Linked DNA regions of Homo sapiens: all the other regions are linked to region 3. The links are contacts of gene promoters, found by promoter capture Hi-C in blood cells and fetal thymus (Javierre and others, 2016). All regions are on one chromosome and are shown on one strand. The core of a region is centred on a gene start or on the middle of the fragment in contact, and the rest is flanking DNA. Distances in the headings are between cores, read along the strand shown. Region 1 overlaps TMEM72-AS1 (TMEM72 antisense RNA 1). Region 2 overlaps TMEM72-AS1 (TMEM72 antisense RNA 1). Region 3 holds the start of LINC02881 (long intergenic non-protein coding RNA 2881).

What was found. The method cuts DNA at HindIII sites, captures the fragments that hold promoters and counts their contacts. A CHiCAGO score of 5 or more calls a contact.
Region 1: a contact is called between a fragment that was not itself captured here and the fragment with the promoter of LINC02881 in region 3, in 3 of 17 cell types (M0 macrophages, M2 macrophages and M1 macrophages). The highest score is 8.6, in M0 macrophages.
Region 2: a contact is called between a fragment that was not itself captured here and the fragment with the promoter of LINC02881 in region 3, in 3 of 17 cell types (M2 macrophages, M1 macrophages and M0 macrophages). The highest score is 6.9, in M2 macrophages.

What each region holds. Positions count from the first base shown.
Region 1 is chr10:44,854,811-44,858,463 of GRCh38, reverse strand. All of the region lies in intron 2 of TMEM72-AS1 (TMEM72 antisense RNA 1), which reads left to right. Among named protein-coding and RNA genes, the nearest start is that of TMEM72, 55 kb to the left of the region's middle. The HindIII fragment of the contact is 4,983 bases long and covers 1-3,653 here.
Region 2 is chr10:44,836,000-44,839,693 of GRCh38, reverse strand. The region is part of intron 2 of TMEM72-AS1 (TMEM72 antisense RNA 1); the gene reads left to right. Among named protein-coding and RNA genes, the nearest start is that of TMEM72, 73 kb to the left of the region's middle. The HindIII fragment of the contact is 8,905 bases long and covers 1-3,694 here.
Region 3 is chr10:44,290,614-44,294,191 of GRCh38, reverse strand. It overlaps LINC02881 (long intergenic non-protein coding RNA 2881), which reads right to left and starts at 1,442. Exons shown (of 3, transcript NR_164139.1): 1 at 1,259-1,442; 2 at 703-891; 3 at 1-279. LOC124902544 (a long non-coding RNA gene) reads left to right here. Exons shown (of 3, transcript XR_007062369.1): 3 at 1-278. The HindIII fragment of the contact is 4,267 bases long and covers 1-3,578 here.

The DNA.
Region 1 (3,653 bases), core at 532-3,031, 560 kb before region 3:
TTAGCTGGGCTGGCCAGCACCTCGAGGATGGTGGGTTTGCTGGCATCTTCCGGCAGACAATGGGGGCCCTGATGATGGGCTAAGAGACCCAGTGGCCCTCACTCTGTCTCTTAAGCCCTTGACCCTGTGGCCTTTAGTGAAGCTCAGTGCAGTTATCAGGACCCCATGACTCATTTGCTCTCCAATTCTTCCTAAGGATGTTTACAGACCAACTTACACCAGCAATAGCTTTTAAAAACCCTCATGAAGAATTCCCACAGTCTACCCATAACCTCTGCCGCAGAGTTCGTAATGTCCCAGACCCCCGTCCTCAGCCATGCAATCACTAGCGTCTTTATATGTAAAGAGAAGATAGTAAAACCTTGCCCTGCTGAATTCATGGGATTCTTTTAAGAGCCCAGCAGTGGTAGATGGGAAGTTCTTTGTAAACGGAACCATGCTGGGACCACTTGCCCTTTTATTCAGGGTCCTGACTTTTCCTTCCTGGCCCTGCGGTCCCCCTGCAGTGCACTCTCCTGACCCTAGGTGGCAGCAGCACCTCGGCTCCCCTCAAGGGAGGCCTGCTGCGGATGGAGGCTAAGGTCAGGATGCAGCCTAATTAGCTGAACAGTTTGCAGCCCTGCTCAGCAAAGAAACCCCTGGGGTGCGGGAAGAGAGTGACTCACATTCTTGTTTCCTTGATAAAGGAGAATGTTTTGAGAGTCATTCTAGCGTTGCAGTCTGGGGTCACACCATCCAGACACTTGGCTTCTCTTCCTTCCCCAGCATCCCTCAAGACCTTTTTTTTTTTTTTTAAATCCTCACTCCCCCCAACCCCCCTCAAATGCACCAATAGGCTCAGTCAGAACAAGGGCTCAAGAGTCTGCCCGAATAAAGACTCTTCTGTGTCCACAGGCTCAATGTGAGCATCCCTGTCCACACCCGGGCCTGGCCAGACCCAAGGGCTTTCTTACAAGATGTGTGAAACGTCAGCATTGAAAGGGCTGGGCAGAGCATCTAGTCTAATGGGAATTTGACAGGGGTAAACTGTGCCTGAGAACCCAAAAGAGGCAGGGAGGGAATGAGCATTTCCTGATCACCTGCAGCGTGCAAGCCCTGTGTGAGGTGTCGGTATACCTGCTCACTCTTCTAGAACAGCCGTAGGATGGGGTAGGTGAGGGAGGTGGGTTTCAAATGGAAAAAATGGCTGCACAAGAGAACACAAGTAGCTTCAAGATGAGAGTAGCTCAGTTCATTCATGGATTTATTTTTCCTGCAAATGTTCACCCTGGTGTGTTTCAGTGCCCAGGCCTGGGGACATCCCAGCTGACCCCTGCAGCTGGGGGCTCTAGTCAGGCCCACTGTCATGCCTCTGGTGGCTCAAGGGTGCACCTGGTCCCGTAATGCCTCCCAGGTCGGCCACACCTCTCAGAAGATACCATTCCTCACCTTCCTCGTGTGCTGGTTCCTCTCCTTCTGACTTTGGTTCTTCAGCCTCAGCTTATCTCTTCCTCCCCAGAGCTGGTGCTGACTTGAGCCCCCATGGCCTTGCCTTGGAAAATATGACAATGACTGTAAATGTTTGGCCGCAGAACTGTTCTTTCACGGGGCCACAAAAGAACGTGTGGCCTCCTGATAATGCCCACGGCTGGTGCAGGCTTGGGGAAGGAGGCCTCTTGCAGAACCAACCCTATAGATGCTGTAGCACCACTGACCCCTTGCACATACATATGCTGCTGACTAGCTCTTGGCCTGAGAAACTTCATTCATTAACATCTTTCCCAGGGCACCTGTGTCCCCTTGGAATCTGGTTTATCTCCAGACAGAAAAACACATGGTTCCTGTTTTCCTCAGGCAGCTCCTGGTTCCATACTGGTCATTGCATGGAAGGTTGAACAGGAGGATTGCCTAATTCTGTGCATCTGAATGAGAGCACAGGCCCATCCAGGAGGTCTGCCGCAAATGCAAAGTGCTTGTCACATTACAGGCAATCAGTGAAAGGAAGCTGCCTCATGGTGTCAGCATGGGTTGCATGTCTTATAAATATACATTGGATCTCTCGCAACAAAGGCTCTGTAGAGTTTGAAGGGACGTGGGAGGGATCTAGTTTTGACTTCTGATGGTGGAACATCGGGCATCAACGTGACAAGGCACTTTGGGCAAGGGGGCTTGTTCTCTTCATCTCTGTGAGAGATAATTGCCATCTTTGGTGTTCATCATTCATTTGTCCACTTAATTCTGCTGGCTGAACCTGGAATGACACCACACGCTGGAGACAGCTTGATGAACAGAACAAGACATGGCTCCCAACCTTGCCCTTTGTTGTCTGATGGAGAGCAGGGAAGCAAAGAAGGGAATAGGAGGCTGAGAGGTGAGGCTGGGCCATGTAAGGCCTTCTGGGCTATGTGAAGGATTTGCATCTTTAGCTCAAAAGCAATGTGAAGTGTTTGAAGGGATTTTAGGAGGCGAGTAATACAATCAGGTTTGCATTTCACTATTAAGTAGATGAGTTGGATGGAGGCTTCCAGATCTGGAGGCCTGGAGAATATTGGTCCAGGCAAGGATGGTGGCACACAGGAATAAGGCAGTGAGGGTGGAGATGGAAAGAGTGAACAGATTTGAGAGATGTTTAAGAAGCTAAAAGTGTAACCTGCTCCCGCCAGAGTATCTGTTCAACCAATGGCAAAATCAACTCAATGGATTACATACTGGTCCTGGGATCCTGTGTTTCAACCTCCTTGTTGTACAAGAGATAGTTTGTAGGTCTGAGGGCAAAGGAACTTCTGGGGGCCCACAGCAAGTGAGATGCAGAGCCAGGGCCGAGACTGGTGTAAACGCATGGGAACCACACTGGGGACTCACAACAAAGCCCAGTGCTGGATGAGGTCCTCTCTAGGCCTCTCCCTAGGGATACCTGGGTCCTCTCCTTTCCTCTCCCTGGAGCAAGCCCCATTACCCCATCAGGGAGAGGAAAGGATAGGATCCAGGTCTCCAGCCTCCAGAGACATCTGCTTACCAGGGGACCCGGGGAGTGAGGAAGAGTATAGGAGCAAGCATGGAGTGGGGCCTCTGCTCAGGCCCTGTCCCTTCTTTCATGGCGCCTACAGCACATCTTTCAGCAAAGGATGCGACAGGCAGCAGGGTGGGGAATCTGAGAACAACCAGGCATTTGATGCCTCTGGGGGCAGGGCAGATAATGAGATGCAGGCATGAGCCCAGGGGGCTGTTTGCGGTCCAGTCTGCCCTCCTTCTTGGCACTGAGGCCAGACTTAAAGGTCAGGAGGACGTCAGACCCTCTCATCTGGGGCTCTCCTGGCAGCCCCTCCCCTCTGCACTCCTCTTCCAGCCCCTGCACGCTTCTGCCGCACCAGCTTCAATGCCTCTATTGTGGCGGCAGCTGCAGCGCTGGGGGCTCTGGCCCTCTCTCCCTCTTCTCCCCTCCTGCAGGCCCCCATGGGTGGGGAGCTGAGCAGCTCCTTCCTATTTTCTGTACCCTCAGGCCCAGAACTCCTGGTTTCTGGTCACCCTCCTCATTCTGGGCAGGTGGCTGCTGGTGACCCGGCTCCAGCTCCCTCTCCCGCCTTTTCTGGGTGGATGCCCTGAGTGACACAGGAAAGTTTCCCAAAGCAGGTGGACTCCTGGGGCCACCGGGACCTGCTCTCTCCCTCCACAGG
Region 2 (3,694 bases), core at 1,047-3,546, 540 kb before region 3:
GATCTACTTCCTGCTGAGGGACTCCTCGCTCACCTCAATTCCTGGCACTGTTGTTCTCATTCTTATGTGCTAGTCACAACTCCGTCCTCCTGGGAGTTTGTGGAGTGTGGTGAATCCAGGATGAGCTTCCTTATTTTGAGGTGGCTTTCACTGCAGTGGTCTCTTTATTTGGACTTGCTATTGGTTAAACCGTCGGAGCTATTCTGTGTAAGTGTCCATAGACATGGGTTTTAGGGGACTGATATTTTAGCTGTGTTTAAATTCTCATATGGCTAAGGGCAGCTTATTTTTTTCTGAGGCAAAGGAAAAGAAACACAGGAAACATCCATCAGGTCATATTTAATGCTGAAAAGTTCTGACGCAGTTTGACTTCATGGTGCTAATGACAGATTTAAATGGAACTGATGCACATGGATCTGAAAGTCGAATTTTCTCTGTTTCTGGAAAATTAACATGCGTCTTTAGAGGCATGATCTGTCCTCACACCCGGGAAGACATGAATGAGATATCTAAAGCAGCACTCAATAGGATAACCAGGAAAGCCACAGGAGGGCTAGAGAATCGGCTAGTGGAGTTGAAAGCCACATCAAATGGTTAGAACTTAGTTACTAGTGTGTAATCTCTTGGATAAGAGATGTCTAAATCCAGAAGAACCAATGCCAGAGGTGAAGCCCGTCCATCCATCCATCCATCCATCCATCCATCCATCCATCCAGGTAAACCTGATGGGATCCATAGAAAAACAAGAGGCAGCAGCATGTTTTCCTGCACAGGGAAGCTGGGTTCAAGACTTATGCCAGTCAAGCAGCCTGGAGGTCTGAAGTGTCAACCTGGGGAAAGAAGGAAAGTGTGGAAAAGACAAGGGAAGGCCGGGCACAGTGCTGTAATCCCAGCACTTTGGGAGGCCGAGGCGGGTGGATCACCTGAGGTCAGGAGTTCGAAACCGGCCTGACCAACATGGTGAAACCCCGTCTCTACCAATAATACAAATTTAGCCAGGCATGGTGGCGCATGCCTGTAATCCCAGCTACTAGGGAGTCTGAGGCAGGAGAATCATTGGAATCTGGGAGGCAGTAGTTGCAGTGAGCCGAGATTGCACCACTGGACTCCAGCCTGGGCAACAAGAGGGGAACTCCGTCTCAAAAAAAAAAAAAGACAAGGGAAAAACTTGAGGGCCCTCAGCTTATGGTGGAGGGAAATGAAAAGGGGAGAGGGAGTGTGTGCTGAAAGCCTTCTTAGCCCTGGCCATCCTGGAATGTACCCTTATCTGGCATGAGGATAACTCCTTGCTCTGAATCAGATCCCAGCGTCTCTGCACTAGGACCCCAGCTGGTCCGGGAGCACACGAACAGCCATCATCTCCTTTGCTTCCCACCTCCACATTTTCTTATATGCCATGCGTTCTTTAAACAATTCTTTCTACAAGATTTTCTGTGTCTTCAGAGAATGCTGCTTGAATGTTGCTAGAGTTTTTATTCATTTCTTATTTAATGTGATATATTAACAGAATGTCTTATAGGAGGGCAATGAAGGACTAGGGAACAAAGGAGTGACACAGAAATGAGAAAAGTTTGAAAGGTAATGTCAAAAAAACCTCCCAAAGTCAATGAAAAATCTATGTCCTTATAAATGAAGCAATTACACTAATTGAAGGATACAGATCTGAATAAATGAATAGACCAAGCATGTTCCTGAATGGGAAGACTCAATAGTGAAGACATTGGTTCTCCCAAATCAGTGGATGTTATTTTGTCTCAGTGCTAATCCAGTGCTGCTTCTCCTGGTTTCTTCTTATAGGTCATTATTTATATGAAAACTTACTCAAGTACTGTATCTTTATATATTTATTAGCCATCAGTACCTTTTACTATGAATCTAATGTTCATACATTTTGCTTATATGTTTATATTGTTTGTCTTATTTTTTTGGTAGGATTTCCATATATATTCTGGGAATTATTACTGTTCATTCTTGTTGTAAACATTTTCCCTGCCTGTAACTCTGCCACTTATCTTTATACTTTGTTCATGGTGTCTTCTGTCATACAGAACTCTTAAGTTTTATCTGGGTTCAAGTGATTCTCATGCCTCAGCCTCCCGGGTAGCTGGGATTACAGGCATGCGCCACCATGCCTGGCTAATTTTTGTGTTTTTAGTAGAAATGGGGTTTTGCCATGTTGGCCAGGCTGGTCTTTAACTCCTGACCTCAAGTAATCTACCTGCCTTGGCCTCCCAAAGTGCTGGGACTATAGGCATGAGCCACCACACCCGGCCATTTCCTTCTTTTTATTTATAATTCATCAACAACGTGCCTTGTTCAGCAAGGATTCTTCCACCTTTATAAGTTTGTATTTAAAAAATTCCTATATGTACTTTTATTCCACTGGAAGTTTTATATTTATCCTTTTATTCTAGCTAGAATTCATATTTGCATATTGGTCAAAGAGGGAACTGACTTTATTTTCTCTTGTAATTGTATTGCTGGCTTACAGCAGTTTATTTATTTATTAATCATAACTCACCCTTTCCCCACAGTTTTGATATACCGTTTTGATATACCATTTTAAAAACACAGTATATATGGACTCATTTCTACTGCTTTTCTGCTTCATCGGTTACTTAACAATTCCTCCATCAGTATTGTTTCAAAATATATTCTGATATCTGAAACAGCAAGCCTGTTTTCATAATTATTCTTTCTCAGAATTTTATTGGTTATACTTATGTGTTTCCTAGAAGAACTTTAGAATCACCTTGTCACATTTTATAAATCATCCTTTGAGAATCTTGGTTTGAGTGTAATAAATCTCCTAACTGATTTGGTAGAACTGATAATTTTACAGTATGGGGGATTCTCAGCCAGAAACGATTTGTTTCTCATTGATTCAGGTATTTTATAGTTTTTCAAGAATGTATGATTGTTTTATTTATATATGCCATAAACATTTCTTATTAGTTTTTAGGAGTCTTATGGGCTTATGAAATTTGTAAAGGAGGACTTTTTTTCTATTTATTTTTTACTACAAAATATTAATTTCTGTATGGCATTCTTATTAATCACCCATCTCCCTGAATTCTATTACAGTTTTATTTAGTAAGTTATTTGTCTTGGTATTCTAGGTATATAATCCTTTCAGTTGAAAACATAGAATTTTCTCTTTTGTTTTCAAAATCATAGCTTTGCTTTATTTTTCTTAACTTACTCTATTATATGAAACCTCTGTGCAATGCCACACAGTAGCAGTGATTACAGAATTATCTTATGCCTGACTTTGTCATATTTTCTAACCCCTACAAACTGAACCAATATTCAAGAATCTTAGTTCTAGTTCCATCTCAGTTGCCGCTCTTTGTTAGTTTCAGTGTATTTATAAAATAAGGAAATTGAATTCTCTGAGCTCTTATTTTCCTTCCAGTTCATGTATTATGTGATTTAACAGATAGGCATGACAACAAAGATTAGCTTTTAAATGTGAAAATGGGAACAAAATAGGGCCTAATTTATTTATAATAAAATGGAATCTATTTGATAACCAGGTTACAATTTACCTACAAGATTTGAAAAGTTAAGAAAACCCACCAGTTGGAGATGTAAATCCCAAGAGAGGTCTTCACCCTTCTTGAAAGCTCATATGCCAGAGAAACTAATGATTTGATCAAGAGAGTTTTTTCCCCCCCAGTATTCAGTTGTGCTA
Region 3 (3,578 bases), core at 193-2,692:
ACTGGGGGACATTCATTTCCTCCTTCCAACTAGAGAGCGAGGAGTGTCCCGGGGAGAGTGGGTCCTTGAGCTCCTCTGGGCCTTGCTTGGGACTTGGTCCAGGAGGTTATGGGAAGAAACTGGTTTAGAAGCTGACCTCATGGGTTCGCTATTCTTATGTAACACTTAGGAAGAGCAGAGACCCACGCGATTCAGTCCCAGAGCAATGTTGCGGTCAAGAGAACACAGTCCAGCTACCAACAGTTATTTCAAAATAATTCAAGCTCTTTGTTTATATTTCTGAAAGAAAGAAAGAAAAAAAAAGGGTGGCCCAGCTGGAAACTCGGCTTTAAGTCCCCTTTCAGGGGGCCCTCAGGTGGGCACCTGCTTGGAAACCTCTCCACCCCTCCAAACACCCTTTTCCTCTCTGAGTGTTCATTTGTTGATCCAGATTCTGAATAAATGAAGCCGTACAGAATCCACCTGGCAAAAATGGAAACTGCCTGGAGGCCAGGGCTGAGGGAAGGCCTGGAGCAGAGCCGGTGCGCGACCTCGCAGTGAGCAGGGAGGGCAGGCTGGGGACGTTCACCACCCAGAACGCCTCTGCTCCCCGCAACCCTGAGACTCCAGGCTCCCCTGTTCCTCCCTCCGGGAGACCCTGCCCGTCCTCCCCGCGGGGCTCCTTCGCAGTTCGGGGGAAGGGACGGGTTGCGTCCTCGGGACCTTTCTCTGCAGCCACAGCAGCGCATCCCAGCACCTCCTCCAGGAGCCCCGCCACCTCCTGCCACCCGGACTTTCCCCACAGCGCAGCGTCCCCTCGTCCTCTCAGGGCTGGAACAGCGGTACCCGCAGACAGTGCAAAAGGGAAGTCCCTGTTGCCTTCCCATGCAAACTGTAGGGCGCTTACAGCTGCTGGGAGAGGAAAGGAAAGAAGAAATACAGTGAGTGTGATATGGGTACAAAGAAACCAACACGGAGCTTCCGTGGGCCTAGAAAGGAGCCCCCAGGAGAAGTACACTGGGCCTGCGTCATCGCCTGCCTTCAGCGGGCTCCATCCTTCCCCAGGCCCCCCTCCCCACCCACCTCCCACCCGCGGTCCTCCCGAGGCCCCCCTCCCCGCCCCCCCTTCTCGCTTCCCCATCCCCCTCCCACCCGCGGCCCTCCCGAAGCCCCCCTCCCCACCTCCCCACCTCCATTCTTCGCCTCCCCAACCCCGCTCCGAGTCTCCCCGCCTCCCTATCCCGCCTCCCACCCGCGGCCCTCCCGACGCCCCCTTCACCTCCCCACTCCCGAGGCCCTCCTGAGGCCCCTGGGCTCCCGCTCCTCCGAGTTGCCTGCGGCCGAGTCCTGGCGCGGCCTGGGACTGCCTGTTGGGGGGAGGGGGTGGGGGGGGGTCGTTCCCAAAGAAGGGGAAGGAGGCCTTTCGTGAGCATCTGAGGAGTACATCCTCATTTTGTCTTCTCACTCTGTCCACCCAGAGCCTGTGACCCGGATCCAACCCGCGGCGCACAGACCCCGGCTCTGGGCACCCCTGGTGAGCGCCTTCTGCGCCAGAGCTCCGTACAGCACCAGCCCGCGCTCTCCCCCAGCTTCTGTTCATTTGCTGCAGTCCTGACGGGTCAGTTGCCTGAGCATCCATGCTGCCATCCATACAAACCCAGGCACGCAGAGATGTACATCCTTTACCCAGGGTGACACCATGTGGAGCTGAATCCAAGTCCGGGAGTCTGATGACCGTGTCTGGGCTCTGACCGCGCAGCCGTCTCACAGTGAAACAAATTGCGGACTGGCCTTGTCCTGAGTGGCCTTAGGAAGCTGCAGTGGCCTGCAGTCTCCTGGCCAGTCTGTAGAATTTGGCAAAGATGAGGCACCTTATAGCCTTACATGTTCTTATTTTTCTTTCCTTTTCTCTTCTTTATTTTCTTTTTTAAGGATTTGAATTAGTATATGTAAAGTGCTTAACGCAGGAGCTGGCAGAGAAAGTGGATACTCAGTAAATAACAGCAATTGTTAATTGTAAAAAGCATGCCACTTATCTGGTAAAATCCCCCATTCTAAGCACCCTGTTAAGTAGTTGGTAATTCCTCACTTGAAAGAAATTAAAAAGAATTTTTGTCAGTTTTTTAAAATATTGTTTTATTGTGATAAAATATTCATAACATAAATTTCACTCTTTTAATACTTTTTAAGTGTACAATGCAGATTAATAAGAGAAATGCATACAAATTTATTAACGTGTACACGGGAAAAATAAGGTGATTACCCAATATCCCATGAGGTCCAGATACTTATACAGCGTTTTTTCAGAGAGGAGGGTGGAAGGCGGAATGTAGGTGATTCTGTTGAGGGGCAATAAATTATTATTAAGGAGAATGAATGGGTCAAGAAACAGAGAGTTATTCGTAAATGGTTCTCTTTGAAAATTTAATAAGCTGGAGAAATGGATTATTTTTTTGAAAGCGTCTGTTCAGGTGTGGTCACGTGTTGGTTTTCTTTTCTGCAATAGATAATGAGATAAGAGGGAGGAGAAGGAAAAGTAATTGTTCTCTTTGGTGGGTCTGCAGGGTCTTCATGTAGATAAGGGAGAGGACTCTTCCAGCTTCTGTTGATCTTGAGGGACTTTAATTGAAAATACTCATACCAGGGAGCCATATTTTGGGGCCAAGTTCCCTGCGCTCCTTCAATCCTCCTGTTTGGAACTTCCCTAGAATTTCACATTATCAACAGCTGAATCAGTGATTATGGAGAGATTTGGGTTAGAGGAAAAGAAGGCAAAGAAGGGGAAAAAACAAATTGGGATAAGCAGAAAAGAAAAATAAATAAATATGTTGTCCCATATCTTCTTGAATCAGTCTCTTAGTCCTAAGAGTAGAAGCATTTGGTCAAACAGCTGTGTCCATTCTAGGAGGTGGCACTACAGAGGGGCTGGGCTTCTACAGCTGATGCAGGCAAGCTGGTCTTTAATAAGAGGCATTTCTATGGAAACAAAGAAAAACAAAGGTTTTTCTTAATGTCTGGAATAGTCCATAATAAACTAGTTTTTCTAGAGTCTCAGAAGTATCTTCAGATTGTAGTGGTAATCTTACAGATTTTCCTGGATTATAGTTTGAATTACGTGTTCATGTGAACTTCCTGAGTAGCCCATACATCAGCAGGCACAAAGGCTGTGTACATGTGAGTTGCTGTGCTGACTCCTCCTGAAGTTTATATCAAGTTGTCTAACTTTAGTTTGCAGGGCTTCAAGAAAAGCAGTTTTAAATTCTAGTGATTCCAAGTGAGAAAAATGAGAGAAAAGTTCAAAAGCATTAGTTTGAAGACTTGCAGCCAAGAAAGAATTCAGGATTTAGTCCAAATTGTAGGAAAATAATAAAAACTCAAAAACAATGGGCAAGACTAGAATCTGATAACAGGCATACTGTACTTGTCTTCTGAAATGCAATTTTTCTCTCCCGTTTCCCCGTTTTTACCAAGGATAAATCATAATTATGCTTGACAACATATATCATGATATATCAAAATAATAACATATTCAGAAAAATATGACTAAAAAATTAAACTCCATTATTTATTTGAGATTTGACAATGCTTCCCATATGATT